2 separate regions of the Homo sapiens genome follow, and region 1 is linked to region 2. Evidence: promoter capture Hi-C in human tissues and cell types (Jung and others, 2019). All regions are on one chromosome and are shown on one strand. The core of a region is centred on a gene start or on the middle of the fragment in contact, and the rest is flanking DNA. Distances in the headings are between cores, read along the strand shown. Region 1 holds the start of ZCCHC8 (zinc finger CCHC-type containing 8). Region 2 holds the start of DDX55 (DEAD-box helicase 55).

Evidence for each region. Contacts are between HindIII fragments. The study calls those that stand out against the background at their distance.
Region 1: the fragment with the promoter of ZCCHC8 here is called in contact with the fragment with the promoter of DDX55 in region 2 in 1 of the 25 tissues and cell types used here (hippocampus).

The regions. Positions count from the first base shown.
Region 1 is chr12:122,499,223-122,505,197 of GRCh38, reverse strand. It overlaps ZCCHC8 (zinc finger CCHC-type containing 8), which reads left to right and starts at 4,266. Exons shown (of 14, transcript NM_017612.5): 1 at 4,266-4,556. The coding sequence starts at 4,358. RSRC2 (arginine and serine rich coiled-coil 2) reads left to right here. Exons shown (of 10, transcript NM_023012.6): 10 at 1-1,744. RefSeq lists silencers at 929-1,129, 4,558-4,707 and enhancers at 3,221-3,912, 3,848-4,027, 4,078-4,137, 4,338-4,417, 3,913-4,606 and 1 more. The HindIII fragment of the contact is 12,081 bases long and covers 1-5,975 here.
Region 2 is chr12:123,600,712-123,607,562 of GRCh38, reverse strand. It overlaps DDX55 (DEAD-box helicase 55), which reads right to left and starts at 5,464. Exons shown (of 14, transcript NM_020936.3): 1 at 5,307-5,464; 2 at 1,582-1,632; 3 at 1,404-1,490; 4 at 40-131. The coding sequence starts at 5,414. RefSeq lists an enhancer at 4,703-4,752 and a silencer at 4,993-5,102. The HindIII fragment of the contact is 15,410 bases long and covers 1-6,851 here.

The DNA.
Region 1 (5,975 bases), core at 3,017-5,516, 1.1 Mb after region 2:
ACTTAACCTTGTACAGTTATTTTCATCTCTTGAAACATGAAAGAAATGTTATGTAGATGTTCTTTAGAAGATCTGGCCATTTGGTACATAATCCAGCACAGATAAGCTGGGTGGTAATGATAATAAAAATGGTTTTCTCAAAACTGGTGTTAATTTAAGTTACCTGGGATGTTTCTTTGAATTTGTTTTATAGTTTCTGTAGCATTTGGCAATTGCTGTTAGAAAACACTAGCTAGAAATCCCCTCCCCACCACCCTTTTTAAGGCCAGTTAACTATACTACAGTCAATACCGTGGTGAGCAAAAATGTAAAAGGTGGAAGGAGAAAACTTACTAAAATAGTATGTTTTCCTATTATAAGGGACAGACTTGGTATTCAGTATTTGTCAAATATTACATGTGTTATTCAGGAGATAGATTAATGCATTAAAGGGATGTAAGCACTTTTATTTTAATAAAGTGCCTTATAACAAGTTCTTTGCATGCTTTTTGCTCATTATCCCTTTGAAGTCTTCTCCAGCATAGACTATAAAATATTAAAATATTAGAAATTTTTTTTGTTTGTTTTTTTGAGACAGGATCTTGCTCTGTTGCCTAAACTGGGTGCAGTGGCACAATCTCGGCTCACTGCCAGAGCCTCTGCCCCCCAGGTTCAAGCAATTCTCCCACCTCCACCTCCCATGTAACTGGGATTACAGGCGTACCACCGCACCCAGCTAATTTTTGTATTTTTAGTAGAGGTGGGGTTTTACCATGTTGGCCAGGCTGGTCCTGAACTCCTGACCTCAGGTGATCCACCCTCCTCAGCCTCCCAAAGTGCCGGGATTATAGGCGTGAGCCACTGCAGCCAGCCTAGAAAATGTTTTGTTACTAGATTGAACATAAATCTGGAGCCAAGGGGTGGGGGGGGCCTGCAAAACTTGAAGTTAATTTACTTCAGTTACAGCAAAGTAATAAGGTTTGGCTTTCCTTTGAAAAATCCTTTGGAAAACATCACAGAATGAGAGCACATTACAATCAGGGAAGACTACAGGAATAAGATTGACAGCCTTATTTTAAAAGCTGGAATTAAGTCTTGCCAACTTGCTCATTAGGTATTTTTTTTATACATGAAAATGAAGTAATGGGGTGTTTTCTTTTTTTTTGCTTTCTGTCCTAGGCTGGAGTGCAGTGCATTGCAGCAGGCTCCCCCAGGCTCAAGCAGTCCTCCCACCTCAGCCTCTTGAGTACCTGGGACCACAGGTGCTCACCAACACACCTAGCTTGTTTTTAATTTTTTATAAAGACAAGGTCTTGTTACGTTGCCCAGGTTGGTCTTGAATTCCTGGCCTCAAGCAATCCTCCCACCTCAGGGCTCCCAAAGTGATGGGGTTACAGGTGTGATCCACTTCACCTAGCCAGATTGTAAGATTTTTAATGTACTTTAATAAACCTTTCATTTTCCCAGAGCACAGAAATTCTATGGCAAAATGGCTTTTCACCGTGTTTCAGTGACAAATCTAAGCCTTCTAAGGAAATGACACTATGGATCCTTCATTTCGTGATCATCAACATTTTTCAATTAAGCTCTGCCTTTTTAAATCAATCTTATTAAAAATGTTCATGACCTTCTAAGGCAGTGTGGACGCAAAAGCTTCCTGTGTGTCTACAGTTATTTTAGGAGCTGACCATACATGATGAGTGATACAGCCTGTACTTTGCTCATCTAGAGCAGCACTGTCCAATAAAATATGTGTGTATATGTATATTGGTCCAAGTGATCTTCCCACCTCACTCCCCTGAGTAGCTGGCACCAAAGGCCCATGACAATGTACCTGAGATGGGGTTCTCAGGCTGTTGGCCAGGCTGGTCTCCCACTCTTGGCCTCAAATGATCTGCATCATCTCAGCCTCCCAAAGTGCTACCTGGGATTCAGGTGTGAAGCCACAGTGCCTGGCCTAAGTATTTTATTTCAATTTCTTTTTTGAGTAGCCAAATGCAAATAATTAAAAGATGAAATTACAGTTGTCCCTTGAACACATGGGTTTGAACTTTAGGGTCCACTTACATGCAGAATTTTTTTTTCTTTTTTTCTTTTTTTTTTTTTTGTGAGAGACTCTTTTGCCCAGGCTGGAGTGCAGTTGCATGATCCTAGCTCACTGCAACCTTTGTCTCCTGGGTTCAAGCAATTTTCCTGCCTCAGCCTCCTGAGTAATTGGAATTACAGGCACCCGCCACCACGCCCGGCTAATTTTTGTATTTTTCGTAGAGACGGGGTTTCACTATGTCAGCTAGGCTGGTCTTGAACTCCCGGGTTACACCATGTTGGCCAGGCTGGTCTTGAACTCCTGACCTCATGATCCACCCGCCTGGGCCTCCCAAAGTGCTGGGATTACAGGCGTGAGCCACCACGCCAGGCCTCATGCAGATTTTTCAGTGAAAGTAAACCTGGGAGGCGGAGGTTGCAGTGAGCCGAGATCATGCCACTGCACTCCAGCCTGGGTGACACAGTGAGACTCTGTCTCAAAAAATAAAATTTCAAAAAAAAAAAATTTAAATGGCCAGGCACAGTGGGTCATTCCTGTAATCCCAGTATTTAGGGAGGCAGAGGCAGGAGGATAGCTTTAGCTCAGAAGTTCAAGACCTACCTGGGCAATATAGGGAGATCCTGTTGTCCACAAAAAGAAAAAAAAAATGTTAAAATGTGTAAGTGACTTCCCAATGTTGTAAACGGAAAGAGGCTTCCTTAAGGGCCTTTGAGCACTGACCTAGCAGTGTTCCAACCTCATCTTGCTCCACTCTGCCTTTTCACTCAACATGGTGGTCCTTACACCTAAGACACTCTTCCATCCTCCCACCCCCAACTTTGCCGATCCTTAAAGTCTCACTTCCTCACTTTACTGACTCCCACAGACTAGGGTGTTTGTTAAATATTCATAACTTCCTGTGTTTTTCACCTTTTTTTTTTTTTTTTTTTTTTTGAGACAGAGTCTTGCTCTGTCGCCCAAGCTGGAGTGCAGTGGCACGATTTCGGCTCACTGCAACCTCTGCCTCCCGGGTTCAAGCGATTCTCCTTCCTCAACCTCCTGAGTAGCTGGGATTACAGGCGTGTGCCACTACGCCTGGCTAATTTTTGTATTTTTAGTAGAGACAGGGTTTCTCCATGTTGGTCATGCTCGTCTTGAATTTCTGACCTCGTGATCCACCTGCCTCGGCCTCCCAAAGTGCTGGGGTTGCAGATGTGAGCCACCGCCCCCGGCCCACATTTCTTTGTGTGATCAATATCCATCAACAACCATCTCGACCCAAGAACAGGAACATTTATAATTATGGGGTTTTTGTTGCTTTTTGTGGACTACAGCCTTCGTGAGAGGAGGAATTACTCTATTGTGGTTACTCTTGTAACCATACTCAGGTCCTAGACAAGTGCCTGGCCCATCGAAGGTGTAAGTAAATAATGTGATTGAATGACAGAAAGCCTCAACAGACAAATAGTTGAGTCTAGCTAATCTTACATTAAAAACGAAGCAAGCTCAATAAACTAATCTACAACAGTCATCTCTGTAGCAAAGCTGGAGTTTCTTATTCTCTTTTATGTTTATTTTTATTCAGTTCCCTTTCAGGCTATGGAGTTCCTTATTCTCTGGTGTGGCACGCACACCAGAATCTGTGAGAAGCTATGCGTCGTGCTCTGATTTTTCACCCTTAGTTGCCTAACAGGAACATCCCATACTGGTTTTTGTTTTTCTTTTTCTTTTTGAGACAGGGTCTTGCTTTGTCTCCCAGGCTGGTGTGCAGTGGCGCCATCTGGGCTCAATGCAGCCTCGACCTCTTGGGCTCAAACCCTCCCGCCTCAGCTTGCCGAGTACTTGGGACTACAATCGCCCAGCTAATTTTTATATTTTTTTGTAGTGTCTGGGTCTCGCTCTGTTGCCCAGGGTGGTCTCCAACTCCTGGGCTCACGTGATCCTCCCACCTCTGCCTCCCGAGTAGTTGGTATTACAGGTGTGAGCCACCCCGCCCTGCCCCCAGATTGCTTTAGCGCATTCTGACCTACTCCAGCTTTCTTCACATTTCAAAAAGCACCAATCCCAGGATGCAATGCAGACAATGAGTACCAGTCGCTTAGAAACCACACGTCCCAGCATGCCGTCCTCCGGGCAATCGCAAGCCCGATAGGCCCCGCTGCATTCCGGGAGTTGTAGTCTCTAGCGACTGGCCCCGCCCCGTGTGCAGCTTTCGCGGCCTGCGTCTGGAGAAAACCCTAGCGGGTGGCTCCGTGCGGCCAGAGCTCTAGAGAGTGGTGCCGCCTTCCAACCTTCTTCCCCAAGCCCTGGTGGCCGGCTCCGCCTCTTCTCGAATCTTTTCCACAGCCCAAAATGGCCGCAGAGGTGTATTTTGGCGATCTAGAGCTCTTCGAGCCGTTCGACCACCCAGAGGAGTCGATTCCGAAGCCCGTTCACACTCGCTTCAAGGACGACGACGGCGACGAGGAGGACGAAAATGGGGTCGGCGACGCGGAGCTACGGGAGCGGCTTCGGCAGTGCGAGGAGACCATCGAGCAGCTCCGCGCCGAGAATATCCTTTCCTCTCGCTGGGCCCTGTCACCCGGGTGTGGGGCCGGGGCAGCGCCAGGCGTGGGGCCGGGGCAGCGCCGGGCGAGGGCGAGGGCGCGGGCGGAAGTTCCAGGAGGGCCAGAATTCCAAGTGCTTTCTGTCACCCGCCGGCGGACCGAGAGTCTAGGGTTCGGGGCGCGCAGGCTGCCTCGGCGCAGACCTCTTCCCCTCAGGGAGGCCGTCTCCTGACCAGACCCACTCCTGCCTCCCACCCGGGTGCCGTGTTTAGGGTTATTTTAGGCTGCTCACCTGACAGATTGTACACAAGCCCTTAATTGCCCCCCTCTGTTTGAGGTCGTGGTGAGGTTTCATATTTCGCAGCCACGCTCAAATTGTGCCGTCATGTTACAGTTGTAGGTGATGAAATACCGGCTGCTTAGACGCGGGATCGGTTTTTATACCGGGGCAAACGCTAGTGGTCCCAGAATGCAGAGTTGGGGGCCTCAAGGAATCCGGGTGTGCTGAGATAATTGGTTAATTGCTTGATTAAAATTGGGGATTAATTTTAGAGTTCTTCCACTCGGAGCTCGCTTCTGTGCTGAAGATGCTTTGCAACGCCTTGAGGAAAACGCGCCAAAGAAGTTTCTGTTAGACTTGAGTTACAAGATTGCAGATTTTTCTTGATTTGCTAGTATGTTTTTTTTTACGTTCGTAGAGTTTTATAGGTAGATAGATAACTTTGGTTCGGGTAGTTTTCCTTTTAAAATTTGTAGAGAACTGAAAGTGGCTGATATGTTAGCTTTTTTAGGGGGACGGGGTCGGGGAATGGAGTCTCAGTCTGTTGCCCAGGCTGGAGTGCAGTGGCGCGATCTCGGCTCACTGCAACCTCCGCCTCCCGGGTTCAAGCGATTCTCCTGCCTCAGCCTCCCGAATAGCTGGGATTACAGGCGCCCGCCACGGCGCCCAGTCAGTATATCAGTTTTTAAGGTTTGTGAAGCGCGATTTATTTTTTCAGAATGTCGTCTTCCTCCACATTGTGAGGAAAATTTTCAGAATACAAAAAGTTGAGGCCGGGCGCTGTGGCTCAAGCCTGTAATCCCAGCACTTTGGGAGGCCGAGGCGGGTGGATCATGAGGTCAGGAGGATCATGAGGATCAGGTGGATCATGAGGATCAGGAGGTCAGCCTGGCCAACATGGTGAAACCCCGTCTCTACTAAAAATACAAAATTAGCCGGGCGTGGTGGCGCGTGCTTGTAATCCCAGCTACTCAGGAGGCTGAGGCAGGAGAATCCCTTGAACCTGGGAGGCGGAGGTTGCAGTGAGCCAAGATCACACCATTGCACTCCAGCCTGGGCGACAGGGTGAGACTGTGTCTCAAAAAAAAAAAAAAAAAGTTGAAAGGATTCTACAGTGGACATCCATAGATTTATTCCAAATTCT
Region 2 (6,851 bases), core at 4,215-6,714:
AACAGCCCATGACTAACAGGGACACTGCATCCAATTCACCTGAACTCGGGGAAGTGCTTCGTGAAATGCGACAGGACCTCGTCTATTTGAATGGCCAGCTCTCGAGTGGGGGTGATGATTATGGCTCCAACCTACCCACATGGAAGGAAGGGACACAGTCAGCAGCACAAGGGACTCCCAGAGAGGAACTCATAGGCCCTCCGCCCTCTACCACACAAAGGAAAGTTCCAGAGAAACAGTAGTTCCCAGACTTTCTCAGCAGCATCTCTGAGCACATATCAACTACTTTGAATTACGGTTACTCGTCATCATATACTGCAGTTATGCTCTTTCAAGTCATGAAGAACAGTGAATTAGTCAATGCTGAACCACTGCTCACAGGGGAAACACAGGGTTAGGTTCCTGCCAGTCTTTGGGCATGACATTTTTGTCAACCAATCAATACATAAACCTATTTTATGTCTGTTTGTGCTTAAAAGACTCTATTTAACATATACTATTGATTCATTCTCATTGAACTCGTGGCCAACAGCACATTAACTCATGCCTTAGCTTGTGCTTCTCTAGCACAGGGATTTTCTCTGCACGTCATAACCTTCTTGCACCCAGGAACACTAGACTGCACTACATCACGGGGCCATTTCAAAAACCAAAATCACCAACATAAAGCACAAAAATGTGCAAAATGGCCGGGCGCGGTAGCTCACACCTGTAATCCCAGCACTTTGGGAGGCCGAGGCGGAAGGATCACTTGAGCCCAGGAGTTTAAGACCAGCCTGGGTAACATGTCAAAAAATACAAAAAATGACCCAGACATGATGGTCCACACCTGTAGTCCCAGCTACTTGGAAGGCTGAGGCAGGAGGACAGCTTAAGCCTGGGAGGTGGAGGTTGCAGTGAGATGAGATCACACCACTGCACTCCAGCCTGGGTGACAGAGCAAAACCCTGTCTCAGGGAAAAAAGAAAAAAAAAAAAAAGGTAAAAAACATGGCACTAAATAAATGACGAAAAGGACACTGTTTACACCTGAGCAGTGAAAACAAAGGCAGCTCTGCCCACGCCCATGACCACAGAAGCACCGAGGATCCACTGGGGTGTTCTAAATTTTAACGAGCAGGCAAATTCACAAATACAGAATCCACAAATAATGAGGATTAACTGTCTTTTTTTTTCAAGTTTCATTCATTCATTATTTGTAGAGATGAAGTCTCACTGTGTTGCCCAGGCTGGTCTCAAACTCCTGGACTCCAGTGATCCTCCAGACTCAGTCTCCCAAAGTGCTGGGATTACAGGCGTGAGCCACGGCTTCTGGCCTATTTTTTCACATTTGTAGCCAGCTTCTTAATCCAATGTGAACTCTCTGATGACTAGGTGAAAATAAATCACTTTTGTTGTCCTCACCTGACTCTTTTTTAACTTCTCTTCTCTTCTCAGAAGAATTTCCAGGATGGGGATGACAAAAGCGAGTGTTTTGCCACTACCTGTGACCTGCAAACAGAGAGTTTTGGTTTCCCTTTCTTCCTCAGAGTTCATCTGAGGGAGAACACGAGGACAGGCTGCACATACCCGAGGCACTCACCGCTTCTGCAGCGACATCTTTGTTTCGCATGAACAGAGGGATGGTTGCGGACTAAAGAGAGAGATTGCAAAGCACTGGTTAAAGGATGCCATCAATTCACAGGTGAGACCCGAAGCCCTAGGAACATAATGGGCAGCTAAGGTCACAGTGGGTCCCACCACAAAAGGGGCTCTGAGTAACCAAGTCACCATAGAGAAGTTGAATCAAACGTGGCAACTGTGTCTATGTGGACGGCGTGTGGGGACAGTGAGCTGAGCTGGGAGGTGGGAGTCCTGAATTCTAGCCCTGTCGCTCCTACTTTCCTCTCTGAACCAGGAAGGCGTTGAAGACATTGGGTTTTAGGGTCCCTTCCAGCTCTAGTATCACAGAATCATGATTCAAATAAACCCTCTCATTTTAAGCACTGTAGAGGTTGCCAGACTTTAAAAGAAACCTGGTTTTAGCAATCAAAAAAAACCTCAATTAGATTCAGGCCTTGGCCTGGAGGCTGCTCCCTCCAGGATTCAGCCCTGGTCCCCAGGGCCTGAGCTCACTTAAATCACAGCAGGTGTAATATTATTCTAACTGCCTCTACACAGTGATTGCTATCCCCCTGCTCAACCCCTGAGGGAACATTTGACAATGTAAGGAGACATTTTTGGTTGTCAAAACCCAGGGTGGGCCAGGCGTGGTGGCTCACATCTATAATCACAGCACTTTGGGAGGCCCAGGTGGGTAGATCCCTTAAGGCCAGGAATTCCAGACCAGCCAGGCAACACAGGGAGACTCTGTCTCTACAAAGAAAATTTTTTTAATTATGTGGGTGTGGTGGTGCATGCCTGCAGTCCCAGCTACTCAGGAGGCTAAGGTAAGAGGATCACCTAGGCCCAGGGAGGTCGAGGCTACTGTGAGCTGTGACTGTGCCACTGCACTCCAGCCCGGGTAACAGAGCAAAACCCTGCCTCAATAAATAAATAAATAAATAAAATACAACCAGGGTTGGGAGGTGATGTCCTCTGATGGACAGATTCCAGTGATGTTGTTAAACATCCTACAATGCCCAGGACAGCCCCATAACAAAAAATTTTCCAGCACAAAATGTCAATAGTGCCAACAGTGAGGACCCTGCTTCAGGCCATTGCTGTCCAATAGAAATAAAATGTGAACCACATAAACAATTTTAAATTTTCTAATAGCCATAGTAAGAAAAGTAAAAAGAAATGGGTGAAATAAATTTTAATATTTTATTTAACCCAATATATCAAAAATATTGTCCCTTCACATTTAGTCAATATTTAAAAATCAGCATTTTCCATTCTTTTTTCATACTAGGTCTTCAAAATCTAGTGTGTTATTTGATACTCAGAGTACACTTTGATTTGGACAAAGTGTATTTCAAGCACTTGATAGCCATGTCTGATGACTGTGTAGTGGATGACAGGTCTAGACAATGAGCTCTGAGGCCAGAGATTGGGTCTTGCTCGCACTACATTCCCTAGGCAGGGCACATAGCACTCCCAGTTTTCATCTCCAGCCCTGCCTGCTGGAAATACATTCTCCACATTCCCGGGAATCTTATGGGCATCTCAAACTCAAGACTTCATTTATTTAAAAAAAATTTTTGTGATGACAGGGCCTCCCTATGTTGCCCAGGCTGGTCTTGAACTCCTGATCTCAAGTGATCCTCCCACCTTGGTCTCCAAAAGTGCTAGGATTACAGGCGTGAGCCACCGTGCCCGGCCATTATTTATTTTAATTTCGAAGATGCGGGTCTCACTATGTTGCTCAGGCTGGTCTTGAACTCCTGGGCTCAAGGGATCCTCCCACCTCAGCCTTCCAAACAAATGGTACTACAGGCGGGTGCCACTGTACCCAGCTCAGTGTTTAAAAACAGGACTCTTGTGGTCAGGCGCAGTGGCTCACTCCTGTAATCCCAGCACTTTGGGAGGCCAAGGCGGGCGTACCTGAGGTCAGGAGTTCAAGACCAGTCTGGCCAACATGGCGAAATCCCGTCTCTACTAAAAACACAAAAATTAGCCAGGCGTGGTGGTGTATGCCTGTAACCCCAGCTACTTGGAAGGCTGAGATGGGAGAATAGCTTGAACCCGGGAGGCAGAAGTTGCAGTGAGCCGAGATCGTGTCATTGCACTCCAACCTGGGCAACAGAGAAAGATTCCGTCTCAAAAAAGTTAAAAACAAACAAACAAACAAAAAACAAAAAAAAGAACTCTTGACTTTCCCTCTGAAACCTGATACGCACGCCAGTCATTCTTGGGAAATGGTAACACCATTCACTCAGCTACTAATAAAAATCAGCCGGGTGCGGTAGCTCAGCCTGTAATCCCAGCACTTTGGGAGGCCAAGGCGGGTGGATCAGGAGGTCAGGAGTTCAAGACCAACCTGGCCGAGATGGTGAAACCCCGTATCTACTAAAAATACAAAAAATTAGCCGGGCATGGTGGCAGGCACCTGTGATCTCAGCTACTTGGGAGGTTCAGGCAGAGAATTGCTTGAACCCAGGAGGCGGAGGTTGCAGTGAGCCGAGATCGCGCCACTGCACTCCAGCCTGGGCAACAGAGCGAGACTCCATCTCAAAAAAAAAAAAAAAAAGAATAAAAACCTCAGGTCCTGTAGTCTTTTCTTTCCTAACCTCCACTTCCAGTCCCTTAGCAACCTTAAAGCTATCCCAAATGTGACTTCTCAGTATCCACTGGTTCCACCCTACTCCAAGTCACCATCATCTCTTACCTGACAATGGCCTCCTAAGCGACCTGCCTGCTTCATCTCTTATGCCTGGAAAGGCCACTCTCTACAGAGAAATCACAGCCCTTCCCTTCCTAAACATCCTCCCAGATAAGATGGCTTCCCACTACATTTAGAATGAAATCCAAGCGCCTACAAGACCCTGCACAATCCATCTCTTACACTACTCTTGATGTTCAGCCACAAAGGCCTCCTTTCTGCTGCTCAAACTATTTGCAGCCTGCCGCAGGGCATTTATGTGCACTGGTATTTCTCTCCAGTGGAATAATCTCCCCCTAGTCACCTCAGAGCCAGCTCCTTCTCAATCACTGAGGTCTCAGCTCAATGCACCTCCTCAGAGAGGCCTTCCTTAACACCCTATCTCACCTCCTCTGCAGTCCTCGCGCGACACTATCACAACCGTCTTAGTTCTTTCATAACACTTACCAGCAGCTGAAATTATCCTTTCTCTAGCTCTTGCACTAGAAAGTAAGGCTATGAGCAGATGCCAATACTGCAAACTCCCCAGAGCCTAGAAGAGTTCCTGACACATAGCAGGTCCTCAAGAAATATTCTTGAAGAGATGCATAACAACGGTAACCCTTACTGAGCTCCCATAGTGTGCCGACTGGTTTATTTAGTCCCCACAGCAACCCCATAAGGAGGGTGTTATTTTTTCGTCATTTCACAGAGAAGGAAAATGAAGCACGGAGAGGTTAAGCCATTTGCCCGAGGTCTCACAGCTACAGCGAGCAGGGCCAGGATGAGAACCAGGCTTGAGACCACAGCACCCGAGGGCGGGGTGGGTCGCGGCCCCTCTGCCGGCTCGCTGGCCGGGCAGCTCCGCATTCCGCCAGTCTGGGCAGCTGGAGACAAGGCAAGAGCCCCAGCTGGAGGGATGAGCGCCCCAGGGCTCAGATCTGTCCGATCACCTCCTGTGGGTCCGATGCAGCGGGTGCCTGCCCCTCTCCCAGCCTCACTCCCCCACGCCAGGGAACCGATACCTGCACCGGCGTCATGTACGGGAAGCCCAGCTCCCGCAGCGCGCCCAGCACCTGCGGGTGCAGCGGCACAGGCAGCGACTCCCAGGAGCCCTCTGTCACATGCTCCATGGCGCGCTCCTTCGCCGCGTCGGTCGCCGCTGCTCGAACGCGCCTTGTGCACCCCCAACGAGCACTTCCGCTTCCCGCAGCTCCAGCGGCCGGCCGGGAACTTCGCTGGAGCAGCAGAGTTCCGGAGCGCGGCGAAGGCTCCCACGCCGCGGGAGGGAGGAAAGGCGTCCGCGGGACGGTGGAGGCAGGCGGCGGGGCAGGCCTGGGGAGTTACACCCGCTCCGCACAGCGCCCTGGGCTCCGGGCGCCTCTCCGCACCGGGCAGGAGTTTTGGCGGGAGGGATTCTGGCCCGGCCCTCCCACTTTCTCTGCCCCTCGGAGGCAGGTGGCAGCACAGGACCGCGTCCAGGCCGAAGGACAGCGGGGCTGGCTACCGTGGGCAGAGAAACGTGTCGGGGACCCGGGTTAGCAGCCCTGCAAAACAGGCACCCGCTGATGGCCGGTACGTCCTGAATGTTGCGGTCCGATGGCCGGTACGTCCTGAATGTTGGTTTACTTTCCCGGAAGTTAGGGTCAGAGTCCTAACTAAGAACACTGTCCCATTCCTCTGTTCACTGTTTGCCTGGGCCATTCATGTCCACATACAACTTCACTCAGAAAGCTGTTTTTGTTGTTGTTGTTGTTGTTGTTGTTGTTTGAGACGGAGTCTCGCTCTGTTGCCCAGGCTGGAGGCTGGGCGCTATAACGGTTCACTGCAAGCTCCGCCTCCCGGGTTCACGCCCTTCTCCTGCCTCAGCCTCCCGAGTACCTGGGACTGCAGGCGCCCTCCACCACGCCCGGCTAATTTTTTGTATTTTTAGTAGAGACGGGGTTTCACCGTGTTAGCCAGGATGGTCTCGATTTCCTGACCTCGTGATCCGCCCGCCTCGGCCTCCCAAAGTGCTGGGATTACAGGCGTGAGCCACCGCGCCCGGCCTTCACTCAGCAAACTTTTATTGACCACTCATTATGTGCCCTCTATGAGGGCCTATCTCCTCCACCTATGTGCATGGCTTGCTCCTGTTGAGGCTCTGAAAACGAAACCCCAAAATGAAGGCCCCAGAGGCAGCCTCAGAAGCAAGTTTCTCTCTGACCTTCTGCTCCCTCTCTGATCTCTGATTCTCTGAGGCTAGCCATAGAAACTCAAGAATCCCTCTTGCCCATGACGGAGCATAGAAACAGGAATCCCTTTTCTCCACAGTCAGCCATAAAACCTAAAAATATTACTCTCTCTCCACCTTTCTGTGAAAAAACTGGCCATAAAGAAATTATTGGCCTGGCACGGTGGCTCACGCCTGTAATCTCACCACTTTGGGAGGCCAAAGCGGGCAGATCTCAAGGTCAGGAGTTCGAGACCAGCCTGGCCAATATGGTGAAACCCCGTCTCTACTAAAAATACAGAAATTAGCCAGGCGTGGTGGCGCATGCCTGTAGTCCCAGCTACTCAGGAGCCTGAGG